Regions from separate parts of the Homo sapiens genome. Here all the other regions are linked to region 3. The links are contacts of gene promoters, found by promoter capture Hi-C in human tissues and cell types (Jung and others, 2019). All regions are on one chromosome and are shown on one strand. Each heading gives the region's core, a stretch centred on a gene start or on the middle of the fragment in contact. The rest is flanking DNA. Distances are from core to core; before and after follow the strand shown.

What was found. Contacts are between HindIII fragments. The study calls those that stand out against the background at their distance.
Region 1: a contact is called between a fragment that was not itself captured here and the fragment with the promoter of MDGA1 in region 3, in 2 of the 25 tissues and cell types used here (dorsolateral prefrontal cortex and hippocampus).
Region 2: a contact is called between a fragment that was not itself captured here and the fragment with the promoter of MDGA1 in region 3, in 1 of the 25 tissues and cell types used here (H1 embryonic stem cells).

Annotation. Positions count from the first base shown.
Region 1 is chr6:38,292,136-38,296,671 of GRCh38, forward strand. The region is part of intron 7 of BTBD9 (BTB domain containing 9); the gene reads right to left. Among named protein-coding and RNA genes, the nearest start is that of BTBD9-AS1, 190 kb to the right of the region's middle. The HindIII fragment of the contact is 6,702 bases long and covers 1-4,536 here.
Region 2 is chr6:38,377,343-38,381,764 of GRCh38, forward strand. The region is part of intron 6 of BTBD9 (BTB domain containing 9); the gene reads right to left. Among named protein-coding and RNA genes, the nearest start is that of BTBD9-AS1, 100 kb to the right of the region's middle. The HindIII fragment of the contact is 4,681 bases long and covers 1-4,409 here.
Region 3 is chr6:37,696,502-37,701,246 of GRCh38, forward strand. It overlaps MDGA1 (MAM domain containing glycosylphosphatidylinositol anchor 1), which reads right to left and starts at 1,382. Exons shown (of 17, transcript NM_153487.4): 1 at 244-1,382. The coding sequence starts at 310. RefSeq lists enhancers at 1-5, 6-735 and silencers at 278-437, 468-757, 938-997, 1,058-1,187, 1,248-1,317 and 3 more. The HindIII fragment of the contact is 32,962 bases long and covers 1-4,745 here.

The sequences.
Region 1 (4,536 bases), core at 1,011-3,510, 600 kb after region 3:
GTATTTTTAGTAGACACGGGGTTTCACCTTGTTGGTCAGGTTGGTCTTGAACTCCTGACCTCAGGTGATCCACCAGCCTCAGCCTCCCAAAGTGCTGGGATTACAGGCATGAGCCACCACGCCCGGCTGAAATTTTCTTTTTTGTTGTTGTTGTGTCTCTGCCAGGTTTTGGTATCAGGATGATGCTGGCCTCATAAAATGAGTTACAGAGGAGTCCTTCTTTTTCTATTGTTTGGAATAGTTTCAGAAGGAATGGTACCAGCTCCTCTTTGTACCTCTGGTAGAATTCGGCTGTGAATCCTTTTGGTCCTGGGCTTTTTTTTGGTTGGTAGGCTATTAATTACTGCCTCAATTTCAGAATTTGTTATTGGTCTATTCAGGGATTCGACTTCTTCCTGCTTTAGTCTTGGGAGGGTGTATGTGTCCAGGAATTTATCCATTTCTTCTAGGTTTTCTACTTTATTTGCTTAGAGGTGTTTATAGTATTCTCTGATGGTAGTTTATATTTCTGTGGGATCAGTGGTGATATTCCCTTTATCATTTTTTTATTGTGTCTATTTGATTCTTCTCTCTTTTCTTCTTTATTAGTCTGGCTAGTGGTCTATCTATTTTGTCAATCTTTTCAAAAAACCAGCTCCTGGATGCATTGATTTTTTGAAGGGTTTTTCATGTCTCTATCTCCTTCAGTTCTGCTCTCCTCTTAGTTATTTCTTGTCTTCTGCGAGTTTTTGAATTTGTTTGCTCTTGCTTCTCTAGTTCTTTTAATTGTGATGTTAGGGTGTCGATTTTAGGCCTTTCCTGCTTTCTCCTGTGGGCATTTAGTGCTATAAATTTCCCTCTGAACACTGCTTTAGCTGTGTCCCAGAGATTCTGGTATGTTGTGTCTTTGTTCTCATTGGTTTCAAAGAACTTATTTATTTCTGCCTTAATTATATTATTTACCCAGTAATCATTCAGGAGCAGTTGTTCAGTTTCCATGTAGTTGTGCAGTTTTGAGTGAGTTTCTCCACTGCTCAAGGAAATAAGAGAGAACACAAACGAATGGAAAAACATTCCATTTGTTTTTCATGGATAGGAAAAATCAATATCGTGAAAATGGCCATACTGCCCAAAGTAATTTATAGATTCAATGCTATCCCCATCAAGCTCCATTGAATTTCTTCATAGAATTAGAAAAAACTACTTTAAATTTCACATGGAACCAAAAAAGAGCTTGCATAGCCAAGACAATCCTAAGAAAAAAGAACAAAGCTGGAGGCATTATCCTACCTGACTTCAAACTACACTACAAAGCTACAGTAACCAAAACAGCATGGTACTGGTACCAAATAGATATATGGACCAATGGAACAGAACAGAGGCCTCAGAAATAATGCCACATATCTACAACCATCTGATCTTTGACAAACCTGACAAAAACAAGCAACGGGGAAAGGATTCCCTATTTAATAAATGGTGCTGGGAAAACTGGCTAGCCACATGCAGAAAACTGAAACTGAACCCCTTCCTTACACTTTATACAAAAATTAACTCAAGATGGATTAAAGTCTTAAATATAAGACCTAAAACTATAAAAACTCTAGAAGAAAACCTAGAGGCAGTACCATTCAGGACATAGGCATGGGCAAAGACTTCATGACTAAAACACGAAAAACAATGGCAACAAAAGCCAAAATTGACAAATGGGATCTAATTGAACTAAAGAGCTTCTGCACAGCAAAAGAAACCATCATCAGAGTGAACAGGCAACCTACAGAATGGGAGAAAATTTTTGCAATCTATCCATCTGACAAAGGGCTAATATCCAGAATCTACAAGGAACTTCAACAAATTTACAAGAAAAAAAACAAACAACCCCATCAAAAAGCATGCAAAGGATATGAACAGACACTTCTCAAAAGAAGACATTTATGCCAACAAACGTATGAAAAAAAGCTCAACATCACTGGCCATTAGAGAAATGCAAATCAAAACCACAACGAGATACCATCTCATGCCAGTTAGAATGGCGATCATTAAAAGTCAGGAAACAACAGATGCTGGAGAGGATGTGGAGAATTAGGAACACTTTTACACTGTTGGTGGGACTGTAAACTAGTTCAACCATTGTGGAAGTCAATGTGGCGATTCCTCAAGAATCTAGAACCAGAAATACCATTTGACCCAGCCATCTCATTACTGGGTATATACCCAAAGGATTATAAATCATGCTGCTATAAAGAGACATGCACACATATGTTCACAATAGCAAAGACTTGGAACCAACCCAAATGCCCATCAATGATAGACTGGATAAAGAAAATGTGGCACATATACACCATGGAGTACTATGCAGCCATAAAAAGGATGAGTTCATGTCCTTTGCAGGGACATGCATGGAGCTGGAAATCATCACTCTCAGCAAACTAACACAGGAACAGAAAACCAAACCCCACATGTTCTCACTCATAAGTGGGAGTTAAACAATGAGAACACATGGACACAGGGAGAGGAACATCACACACAGGGGCCTGTCAGGGGGTGGGGATCTAGGAGAGGGATAGCATTACGAGAAATACCTAATGTAGATGATGGGTTGATGGGTGCAGCAAACCACCATGGCATGTGTATACCTATGTAACAAACCTGCACATTCTGCACATGTATCCCAGAACTTAAAGTATAATAAAAAAATAAGAAAATAAAATTTTGTGCCAAAAAAAAAAAAAACCTTTATACTCTCAACTAATTGCTCCACATCCTCACCAACTCCTGGTAATGTCAGACAGGTAAGTGTGAAATGGGATCTCAGTGTGATTTTAGCTTTTAACTTTTTTGTTAGGTGAAGTTGAACATTTTTTTTTCTCTTTTTTTCCCTCTGGAATCATTCTCAATTTCTCTTCTGTAAACTATTTTTATCTTTTGCCTATTTTTCTATTATCTTTCTAATTGATTTTCAGGATGCCAAGCTTTTGTAGGTCAATTTATTGAGTTGAAATATTTAATCTTTTTCTTTATGACTTATGCTTTTCCCTTTTCAAAAAAATTCTATTATTGTTGTTGTTGTTGAGACACGGTCTCATTCTGTCATCCAGGCTGGAGTGCAGTGGTACGATCACGGTTCACTACAGCCTTGGACTCCCAGGCTCAAGCAATCCTCCTGCCTCAGCCTCTCGAGTAGCTGGAACCATAGGCAGGTGCCATCATGCCTGGCTAATTTTTTAAATTTTTTATAGAGACGAGGTCCCATTTTGTTGCCCAGGCTGGTCTTGAACTCCTGGGCTCAAGCAATCCTCCTGCTTCAGCTTCCCAAAGTGCTGGGGTTATAGGCATGAGCCACCACGCCTGGCAAACTTTTCCTTTCTTGTTTATAAGTTCTTTCCTACACCAAATTCATAAGGATATTTTCCTAATTTTCTCCTACAATTTCTCAAACTTTTCTTTTTATGTTTGTTTCTTTAATCTATTCAGAATTTATTTTTAGTATGCTGTGAGATGAGGATTTTCATCTTTTATTTATAAATATGACTAATTTCCCCAAATAGCATTTAGTGAACAGCCCATCCTTTCCCCCACTAATTTATGTTACTTTAGTCACATATGAAGTTTTTGTATATATTTGCATCTCCATTTAAGATCTGTATTCTGAGGCTGGATATGGTGGCTCATGCCTGTAATAATCCCAGCTCTTTGGGAGGCGGAGGCAGGCGGAGCACTTGAGGCCAGGAGTTTGAGACCAGCTTGGCCAACATGATGAAACCCCATCTCTACTAAAAATACAAAAATTAGCTGGGTGTGATGGTGCATGCCTGTAATCCCAGCTATTGGGAGGCTGAGGCAGGAGAATCGCTTGAACTTGGGAAGTTAAGGTTGCAGTGGGCCGAGATCATGCCACTCCACTCCAGCCTAGGCAACAAAGCGAGACTCTGTCTCAAAAAAACAGAAACAAAAACAAAAAAAGATCTGTATTCTGTTTCACTGGTTGATTTGACTAGCCTTGTGCCTTTACCATGCTGTCTTAATTACCATAATTTTAAAGTAATTGTAAATCTTAGTTAGCTCCTCTTCTCCCCCTCCTTTTCCTTTTCTTTTTTCTTTTACATTGTCATATATTCTTGGCCCTTTCAGGAAAATTTTTTATTTTGTTTAAGTTTTCAAACATACTGGCATACAATATTTCACAGTATAGCTCTTTTTCATTCAAAGTATTATTTATTATACCTTGCCTTTCTTTTTTGCCCAGTTCTATACAGGTTTATCTATTTTATTAGTGCTCTTAAAGAACCAACATTGGGTTTTGTTGATTCTTTTCCTTATTTCCTATTTTACTAAATTCCTGTCTTCTCTTTATTATTTTCTTCCTCCTGCTCCTTTGGATTTATTCTATTTTTTTCCTAACTACTTGAAATGAATGTTTAACTCACTAATCTTTTTCTTTTCTAAAAAAATGTATTTAAAGCTAATATAGTATTTTACTTCTAACTCCTGTTTCACCTTTACAATTTTTTGATATTTAGTGTTTTGAAGTGTACCAGTCAGGTATTGTGTAGAATGTCC
Region 2 (4,422 bases), core at 819-3,318, 680 kb after region 3:
ACTTACAACAGAATGAAATCTTCTCTATTCAGGGATGAAAGGACAGACATTATTCATTATGGTACCTTTTAAGAATATCAGAAACCAATGATAGTATGCAACTGTTACAGCTGAGGCCAAAGCAATCTATTACCCAAATAAAAGGAACAAGATATAATGTCTACTTTGGTATTTCTCAATTTACTGTGCGTTTCACTCTTGGGTTCTTACAAACTAAGAACATGCACAGGTGCATACAGGCATGCACACACACACGGACACCCACACATACCTTCATCAGACCTACCCAGAACTATACCTCACTCACTTTAATAACTCTGGACTCTCCTTGGAATTCCCAGTTGCAATATTTGAGAAGGTTATTTTTTAACCATCTATCAAAGAAGATTGATGTTCCTATCTTCTTTTTCATAATCATATTTACCCAAAACATTAATTTTCCACATAGTATTTTTTTTCTTGTTAATAGAATTACTACTTTTTCTAATACAGGAATTGTTATATAATCAATAGGGTGGTATAAGAAATCAATGTACCAACTTCTTCCTTAAAAAGAAATCTTTAGATTCCTTCTTGAAAAAGATATTTTAAAAGATACAGGTGCTGCAGAATTTTGCTCCTTAGTTCAGCTAAAATCCTGCTCTACTCACCCTTCAATATGTCTGCGTTGTCTAAATTTTCCTGGTCATGTGATTCTTCCCCTGGCAAACAGTGTGAACTTCCGAACTTCCCATGGCTCCGCCCCGTCCTCCCAGTGGAGGACGACTCTCGGGGAACCCTCCCCCTTATCTGCCTCCTGCATCTATCATTGACAGGATTTCCTTATACAGCAATATAGCTAACTTATGTGCAGAGAAACCCCTCCTCATGAAGAACATCTAAAAATCATAGGCAAAACTTTTCTTTTTTTTTTTTTTTTGAGATGGAGTCTTGCTGTGTCGCCCAGGCTGGAGTGCAGTGGTGTGATCTTGGCTCACTGCAACCTCCACCTCCTAGGTTTAAACAACTCTCCTGCCTCAGCCTCCTTAGTAGCTGGGATTGCAGGCACATATCACCATACCTGGGTAATTTTCGTATTTTTAGTAGAGACGGGGTTTCACCATGTTGGCCAGGCTGGTCCTGACCTCAGACGATCTGCCCACTCTGCCTCCTGAAGTGCTGGGATTACAGGCATGAGCCACCGCACCTGGCCCTAAACGAAACACTTAAACTTAAATTCTCTTAAAAGTATGGTTAAGTTGGCAGTAAAGGCCAGGTGCAGTGGCTCATGCCTGTAATCCCAGCACTTTGGGAGGCCAAGTCAGGTAGACCGCTTGAGGTCAGGAGTTCTAGATCGGCCTGACCAACATAGTGAAACCCCATCTCTACTAAAAATACAAAAATTAGCTGGGCGTGGTGGTGGGTACCTGTAATCTCAGCTACTCGGGAGGCTGAGGCAGAAGAATCACTTGAACCCAGGAGGCGGAGGTTGCAGTGAGCCGATATGGCACTACTGCACTCCAGCCTGGGCGACAAAGCAAGACTCCATCTCAAAAAAAAAAAAAAAGAAAAAAAAGGGGAGGCAAGAATCGTTGGAAAGGAACCATTCCCCAGGGATGAGTAAGACTTAGAGCTGGTGTTTGCTCTGATGTAGGGTGACCATATAATTTATCGCCCAAACCCGGACATTTTTAAGTATGAATAACTAGGCTACAGCAAATTAATAATTTTCCAGGCATACCAAGATATATGATCACTCTACCCTGAGGTCATCTGCTGATCCCCGGTAGCAGTTTGGATTTTAACAGGCCACATGTAGGCTTGGGGAAAGGAGATAAAGCTTGGGGTCTGAACAGGGAGAGATGCTGAAGCAGAGGCTCCTGAACAAAGTCCAGACTCCCAAAAGGCAACATTTTTAGTGGCTGACTTTCAAAAAAGAAAGAAATCTATCTTGCAAAAGGAGATAGGGCTGAAATACAGGTAAGAATGGGGTGAAAGCTTAGAGGGCAGCCAGTTCAGACTGAAGCAACTTAATTCAAAAGACTTGAATATTAAAGGCTCTCATCACCACTGTAATCTCTGTAATCTGACAAATCTTCTAGCGGGTTTGCTCTACTAAAATAAGGGATTAATCCAAGAAATGGAAGAGAAGAAATCAAAGAAGTATGAAATTCAATTTGGGAGACAGGCAAAGAGAATTCCAAGGATAGCAACAAAGGAGAGGCTCAGATTGACAGCTGTGCATAAGGCTGAGAAAGCAAGAAGGTAAAGAAGGTTCTAGAAAGGATATCTCTTAAGAAAAAAAGGAAACAGAGTGCTGGGAGAAAACTGTATTTAGATGCTACTAGAAGGTGTAAAAAAGATTATCAATAAGTATTAAAAACTAACTTCAGGAAAAACAATCAAACAAGAAGGGAAACAATCATACCACATATGCTCGGATATTAATTATATTTGCATGACCACAGTGAAAATTACTTTTACTACAAATTGTAACATAACTATATTGGGAGGATAGGGAAGGAATGCACAGGAGACGGCAGTGTAAAAGAGCCAAACAGTCATCTATTGTCATATTAGGAAATTAATAGAAGGTGACTACAATTGATTAATCAAAAGAAAGATGTCCCACATAGAAAATATAGGTATGTATAAATGCCCAAAGAAAGAGCTAAAAGAGTGGTAAGTCATTGCCTTTGGAGATGGAGACTGGAGTAAATGAAGAAAGGTGGGTGTGGGAATTGCTGTATTTGTTATATACTATATGCTCTTTAGTACTATTTGACTTTTTAAAGTATATGCCTGTATTACTTTAATAAAAATAAAAAAATTGTAAACATATATGAAATGAAATTATTTTCAAGAATATGGGTGAAATAAAGATAGAACTTTCATAATTTCAAAATAAGGAATTTCCAGACAAAGAAAAATAAAAGAATTCATCATCAACAGATTCTTACTAAAGGAAATTCTGAAAGATATACTTCAGGAAGAAGAAAAATGATCCCAGAAGGAAAATCTGAGATGCAAGAAGGAATGGTGAGCCAAGAATAGGAAATATTTATGGATAATGCTAAACACACATTGACTAGATAAAACAATAATATTGTCCCACTTGTGGGTTAAAAATCAAATAAAATTCTAGGAAAGAACAGCATATAGGTCAGATCAAGGGTGATGGGAAATAACTCTCTTCTAACATCCTTATTGAGTCTAGAAGAGGGTAGGCTGGGTGAGGTGGCTCATGCCTATAATCCCAGCATTTTGGGAGGCTGAGGCAGGAGGTATACTTGAGGCCAAGAGTTTGAGATCAATCTGGGAAACACAGCAAGACCCTGTCTCTAAAAAGGAAAAGGAAAGAGTTTTTTTAAAATACAGCTGGGAGTGGTAATGTGCGCCTGTAGTCCCAGCTATTCAGAAGGCTGAGGTGGGAGGATCCCTTGAGCATAGGAGCTCTAGGCTGCAGTGAGCTATGATCATGACACTGCACTTCAGCCTGGGCAACAGAGCGAGACCCTGTCTCTACAAAGGAAAAGGAAAAAGGGTAAAGAAATGGTTTAACTTTAGAATAGCAAATTAAAAATGCATGTTAGAATAGCAAATTAAAAATGCATGTTAAAATTTCTGAAATCTAGTATAACCACTAAAATAGGATGTATAACTTCCAGTATAGTAAGAGGGGGTCAGAAACCAGAAAGAAGAAAAGCAACAATACAAAAGTAAACATAAAAGGAGGAAAGAATAAAAGAAGTAAAATTTAAAAAAATTCAACAAATAGCAAAAAATGATAGGGGAGAAATAGATCAAATGTATTAGGAAACATAATTAATGTACATGGACTAAATTCTATAGTTTAAAAGACAGATAACCAAACTGAAGAAAAGTAAAATCCTATGACACGCTATTTACAAGAAACAATAAAATATAAGGGCAAAGGAAGCCTGAAACTAAAGGTATGGAAAAAGACATAACAAGTGTAGATGCAAAAGTTACAATAATGTCAGAAAAAACAGACATTAAAGCAAAAAGCATTACTCAAGAAAGAGGGTAACTATATACTGATAAAAGGTTCACTTAATTATAAATATATAACAATTCTAAGTGCATATGCAGCTAATATAGTTTCAAAATATACTAAGCAAAAAGTAGCAAACTGAGAAACTGAGAAATCCACTATCAATGGCAGATTTTAACTGCTTTCTCTCAGCAACTGATAGATCAACCAGACAAAGTCAGAAAAAATATAGAATATTTGAGCAACATAATTAAAATAACATGAACATAAAGAGAATAATGTTCTCAATAACTGAAAAATATACATTCTTTTCAAGTACACAAAGGATTTTATTTTTAAAGACTACGTTCTAGGTAAGCGTCAACAAATTTTAAAGGATCAGTATCACACAGATCACTTTCTCTAATCACAATCAATCAACTGGAAAA
Region 3 (4,745 bases), core at 132-2,631:
AGGGTGTGGGAAAGTGGGTGCCTCCTCCTGACATCCCGGCTTCCCACCAGACCCTACGACCGGCCCCTGTGTTCCGAAGCAGCTAGCTCGGTCTCCACGCGCCCTGGAGAGGGCGGGGACGCGGGCATCCACTCCAGAGTCCGAGTCGAGGTCTCCACCAAACCCCGGCAGCGCGCACTTTGCGCCTCTTGCAAAGTTTCCGCGCGAGGTTAAGCCAAGGTGGAGCGGGACGCGGGCTCTTACCGTAGACTCCTTGTCCCCGGCAGTGGAAGGGGATCAGCGCCAGAAGTAGAAGGCAGGTCACCTCCATCTTCACGGCCGGTGCTTCATCCCCGCGAGGCGGCGCAGCCCGAGAGGCGGCGGGGGGCGCATTCGCCGGGGCCCCGCGACGCCCCTATGTCCCCCCCTTTCCCTGAGAGGTGAGAGAGAGAGCGGCGACGAAGACCAGGAGACTGAAGAGGCGGAGGTGGCGGCGACCCGTGTTTCTCCTCCGGCGGGGCCGCTGCCCGCGTGGGGACGCAGGGGGCGCTGGCCCAGCCCCGGGTGCCTCGGCGCGCCCGGCACAGCAGCCAGCGCCCCGACCCGAGGAGCCCGGCCGCCGAGCCGCCCCGGGTACCCAGGGCCGTCCGCGCGGGATGCTAGGCGCCGGGGACCTCTCGGCGGCGGAGGCGGCGCTTCGATCCAACAGGCCACGGACGACTGACAAACTTGTCGTTTCCCCGCACTGGGGCCGCCCCTCAGCGGAGCGGAGTCGGGGAGGCCGGGGCTCCGCTCGAGTTAATCAATCTGCTGTTTCCAGTCCTGCGGCCGCTGCCGTGGGCTCAGCGGCCCGACTCCAGGGGGCCGGGCTGAAAGCACTCGCGGCGGCGAAGCAGCCCCGGGCCCGGCCCTCCTGATCCGGGGAGCAGCGCGGGCTGGGTTCGGCCGAGGGACGAGCGCCGCGGGTCCCCGGGTCCGTGAAGTTAGCCGAGCCGCCGATAAACCCGGGGGAAGAATAGCAGCCCGGCGCCCCGCGGGAATCTGGAGAGCAATTCCAGGCAAGAAGGGCCCCAGAAAACGGGGAAAGGAGGAAAGTTTGAGTCTTTTGAAAAATATTCGCGCTCTCGCCCAGGCCGGGGCTGCGGCGCGGGCGCCGCTCGCCGCCTCCGCTCGCCGCGCTCCTCTCCCGCCGTCTGGCCGCGGCCGTAGCCCTCCCGGGCTCCGAGCTCTCGGGAGAGCGGGGCTACGCCGCGCCCCAAGTTGGTCGTCCCCGCCCCCGCCCGGCGGCCTTGGCCTGCGGGGGCCCAGAGCGGGCGGGGCCGGGCCGGGCTCCGGGGCGCGGCGGCCGCTCGGCTCCGGGCCGCGGGAGCGCTCCGCTCGCTCAGCAACTTGGGCTTTGCTGTGCTGCTTTTTCGCCCCTCCGAGCTTTTCATTCCGCGCTCCTCCCGCCTCCCTCCCTCTCTTCCTCCTCCCTCCTCCTCGCGTCTCCTCGTTCGGTCTCTCGCTCTCCCACCCGTTGTCGCTCGCTCTCCTGTTTGATTCCCCTCCAGTTAAAAAAAGGAGCCAATTAAAGGCAGCCCAGCTCGCCTGGCCCAGCCTCTGTCCAATTTCCTCGCCTCCCCCAGGACCAATTAGAGAAAACAAAACAGGGCTGGGGGAAGCTGACTGCCTGCCTTTCTCTTTCTCTTTCTCTTTCTCTTTCTCTCTCTCTCTCTCTCTCTCTCTCTCTCTCTCTCTCTCTCTCTCTCTCTTTCTCTCTCTCTCCTCTCTCTCTCTTCTCTCTCTCCTCTCTCTCTCCCTCTCGCTCTCTCTCCCTTCCTCTCCTCTCCTCTCTTTCCCTTTCTCCTCTCCCTCTCTCTCTCTTCCTCTCTCCGCCCCCTAACATTCCCCCCCAACCCCGCCCAGCAGGAAAATGTCAGAAAGCAGAAATGGATCCATCTATCCCGAGGACAGTGGCGGAGGGACCTGGGTTTCGGCGGGGGCTCTGCAGCCGCGCGCTCGCACACTCGCTGTTCTCCAGCCTTGCACACCCAGACTAGCTGGCCGAGCCGGGTGCACCGTTGCCAGCAGCCCGCGGGGCAAACACGGCCGCTCGCTTCGGAGACCCATGCCCGCAGGGCACTGCACACTTCGTAAATGTTTTGCACTTTGGGGAGGCGGGACTGAAGCGGGGGTCCTAGGGAAAGGCCGGGCGCCTGCGGTTCCTGGGGTCCTGCAGCCGCGCGAGACGGGCCGCGGCTGTGGGTCTGCAAGGCTGTCTGCCCGGCTCGAGAGGCCCCCGCCCCTTTCCAGGCGTCTGGTGCTGGGGCCGGGCCGGAGCAGCTGGCGGAGAGGTCGCGCTGAGAGCTCCTGCCCTTGCCGCGGCCCACAGGTTGCCAACAGGTTTGCTCGCACGACCCCTCCGCCAGAGCTTCCCTAAGTCACCCCACATTTTCCTCGGCTAGCCACTCTTCCCATCTTGCCTCCCCTCGGGACCTCAGGCGCCCCCAAGCGCCCCGGGGGCACACCTCCTTCCGGCTGCCGAACCCGAGCCCCGCTCCAGCGGCGGGAGTCCGGCACTCGGGTCTCAGCCGCCTCGAAGGGGCCCTCGCGGAGCAGGAGTGCGGAGAACGCTCCTCCCAAACGCCCGCGGGGAGGGGCGTAGGCTGGCAAGCGAGGCTGGTGGCCTCCCCCGCGCCTCCGATCCCGCCCCGCGCCCAACCCGGGTCCTGCTAATCTCACCTGCTCCACCTGTCGCCGTTATTTATCTCAGCGTGTGCGCAAGAATTGTTTTAGGTCGGCCCGTGGGAGCGCAGACAATCGCAGCAGCTAACAAGCGGGGAGACTACGAACCCCCCCTCCCTTCGCCCCCTGGAACTGCTCAATATCTTGATGGTGGTTCCACGGCTCTATGCATTTGTCAAAACTCAAAGATCTCCACACTCCAAAAAGGTTAGTCTGCATATAAATTGAAACATAAATTTTTTTAAAATAATAATAATGAACCGTCCCTTCCCCAGGCCCATTTCCTGCTGGGTCTCTCCTCCCTTGACTCTCCAGGGCTTAAGCCCCACCGGAGCGCGCGCTCCTGACTGCTGGAAGAGGAGCGGGAGGTGTCGGGAAGTGCCTGGTGGCATGGGGGGGTTCCACCTTCCTTTCTCAGCCCCCTTTCTGTCCATCTCAGGAAGCCCGAGAACATCCGAAGATTCCTATTCTCTAGCCCACCTCCACTCGTTTGCGCCTCCCTTGTGCCCTCTTCCGTCTTTTCTCTCCTTTCTACCCCGTGGGTCCAAGGCTGATAGGAAGTCCAGACTCAGTGCGGTGCTCCCAGCAGATGCCAGCTGCAGACATGTTCAGTGAATTCACGAATGATGCCCATCATGGCCAGATATCACAGACCTGGGATACCCTCAGGGTAGCCATCCTTTCACTCCCCAGCCCCGGACTGTTACCTCAAAGGCAAAAAATTCATTTTCTGTCCCACAGAGATACACAGCCACCATGCCTCTTCCCGCCTCCCCCATCCAGTCAGAAAAGGAAGTGGTGCCAATTGAGGGAGTGATGAGGGATAGCTTCTTCTATTGTCATCCTCTTCCCATTATTAGAGGGTTCCTGGAAGTCTCTACCCCTTCCAGGAAGCTCTCAGGGAGTGATCACAGCGACTGTGGCTCTTCCTGGCTTTGCCCATTCTGAGCTGAATGTGTACTTCTCCATGTCGTGCGAAACTGCGCTCTGATTTTCCAATTAGCTGTTCCAACACCAAACAGCAGTCAATTGCTCCTCTTTGGCTTTGGGGTGAGTTACTGGGGACAGAGAACTGCACTGACTCAGCTGACATTCTCTTGACTTTGCCCTCTCTAAACTCACACACTAGCCTGGAGGAGAAAGAAGGTTCATGATGGCGGGGTGGGGGGAACAGAGGACCAAGTTAGCCAGGCTGGGATTGAACATTTGCTGTAGCTAATCCACTTGTGAATACTCTGCAGCTAATTGTATGCAGTGTAAATACCTTGACAGCCTGTTTGTGTGTGTCTGTAAATTCAGCTGTCTCCTCCCCCAAGTGTGCCCTGCCTGCTGCCTCAACACAGCCCAGTGTCTGACAATGGGAGGCAACCTCAGAGAAGGGAAAGAGCCCTAGACATCAGTCCTGCGTCCCAGTCCTAACCTCTCTAGGCCTCAGTTTCCCCAGATGTAAACTAGGTAAGATCCCTGTCTTCCTAGAGAGAAGTGGAGTAATAAGAATAACAGCTGACACCACATGCCAGGCACTGTATTAACTATTTAATCTTCATAACCATTATGTAAGACAGGGCTGTTATTCTCATGGAATGACATAGGAAGATGTAGTGACTCACTCAGCTGCTAAGGGGCCAAACTGAGCTTTGACCTCAGTAGCTTGGCTCGGCGACCTTGCCCTCTCCCACTGTTCTATACTGAAGAGGGGCAAGGGCCTAGGTATCAAATAATGTTTCCACAAGAACTGTTTCCTGTTCCCTTTACAGACACAGAGAACAATACTCTGGCCCCCAAATTGCACCAAGGGCAGGGGGGACATGAGAGCTAGACTGCTAGACCTGACATGGGCCATAGGGCACAGGATGAGCCTGAGGTCAGGCTATCTGGAGGCTTGGTGGTCAGCACCCAGCTGCCAAGTCTTCGGTTCCACTCAAGATCATTCTAGGTCACTTCCCACTAGAAAAAAAAATATATATATATATATGTGTGTGTGTATATATATATATATATATATATATATATATATATATATTTGCCTCAAAGAAAACCTA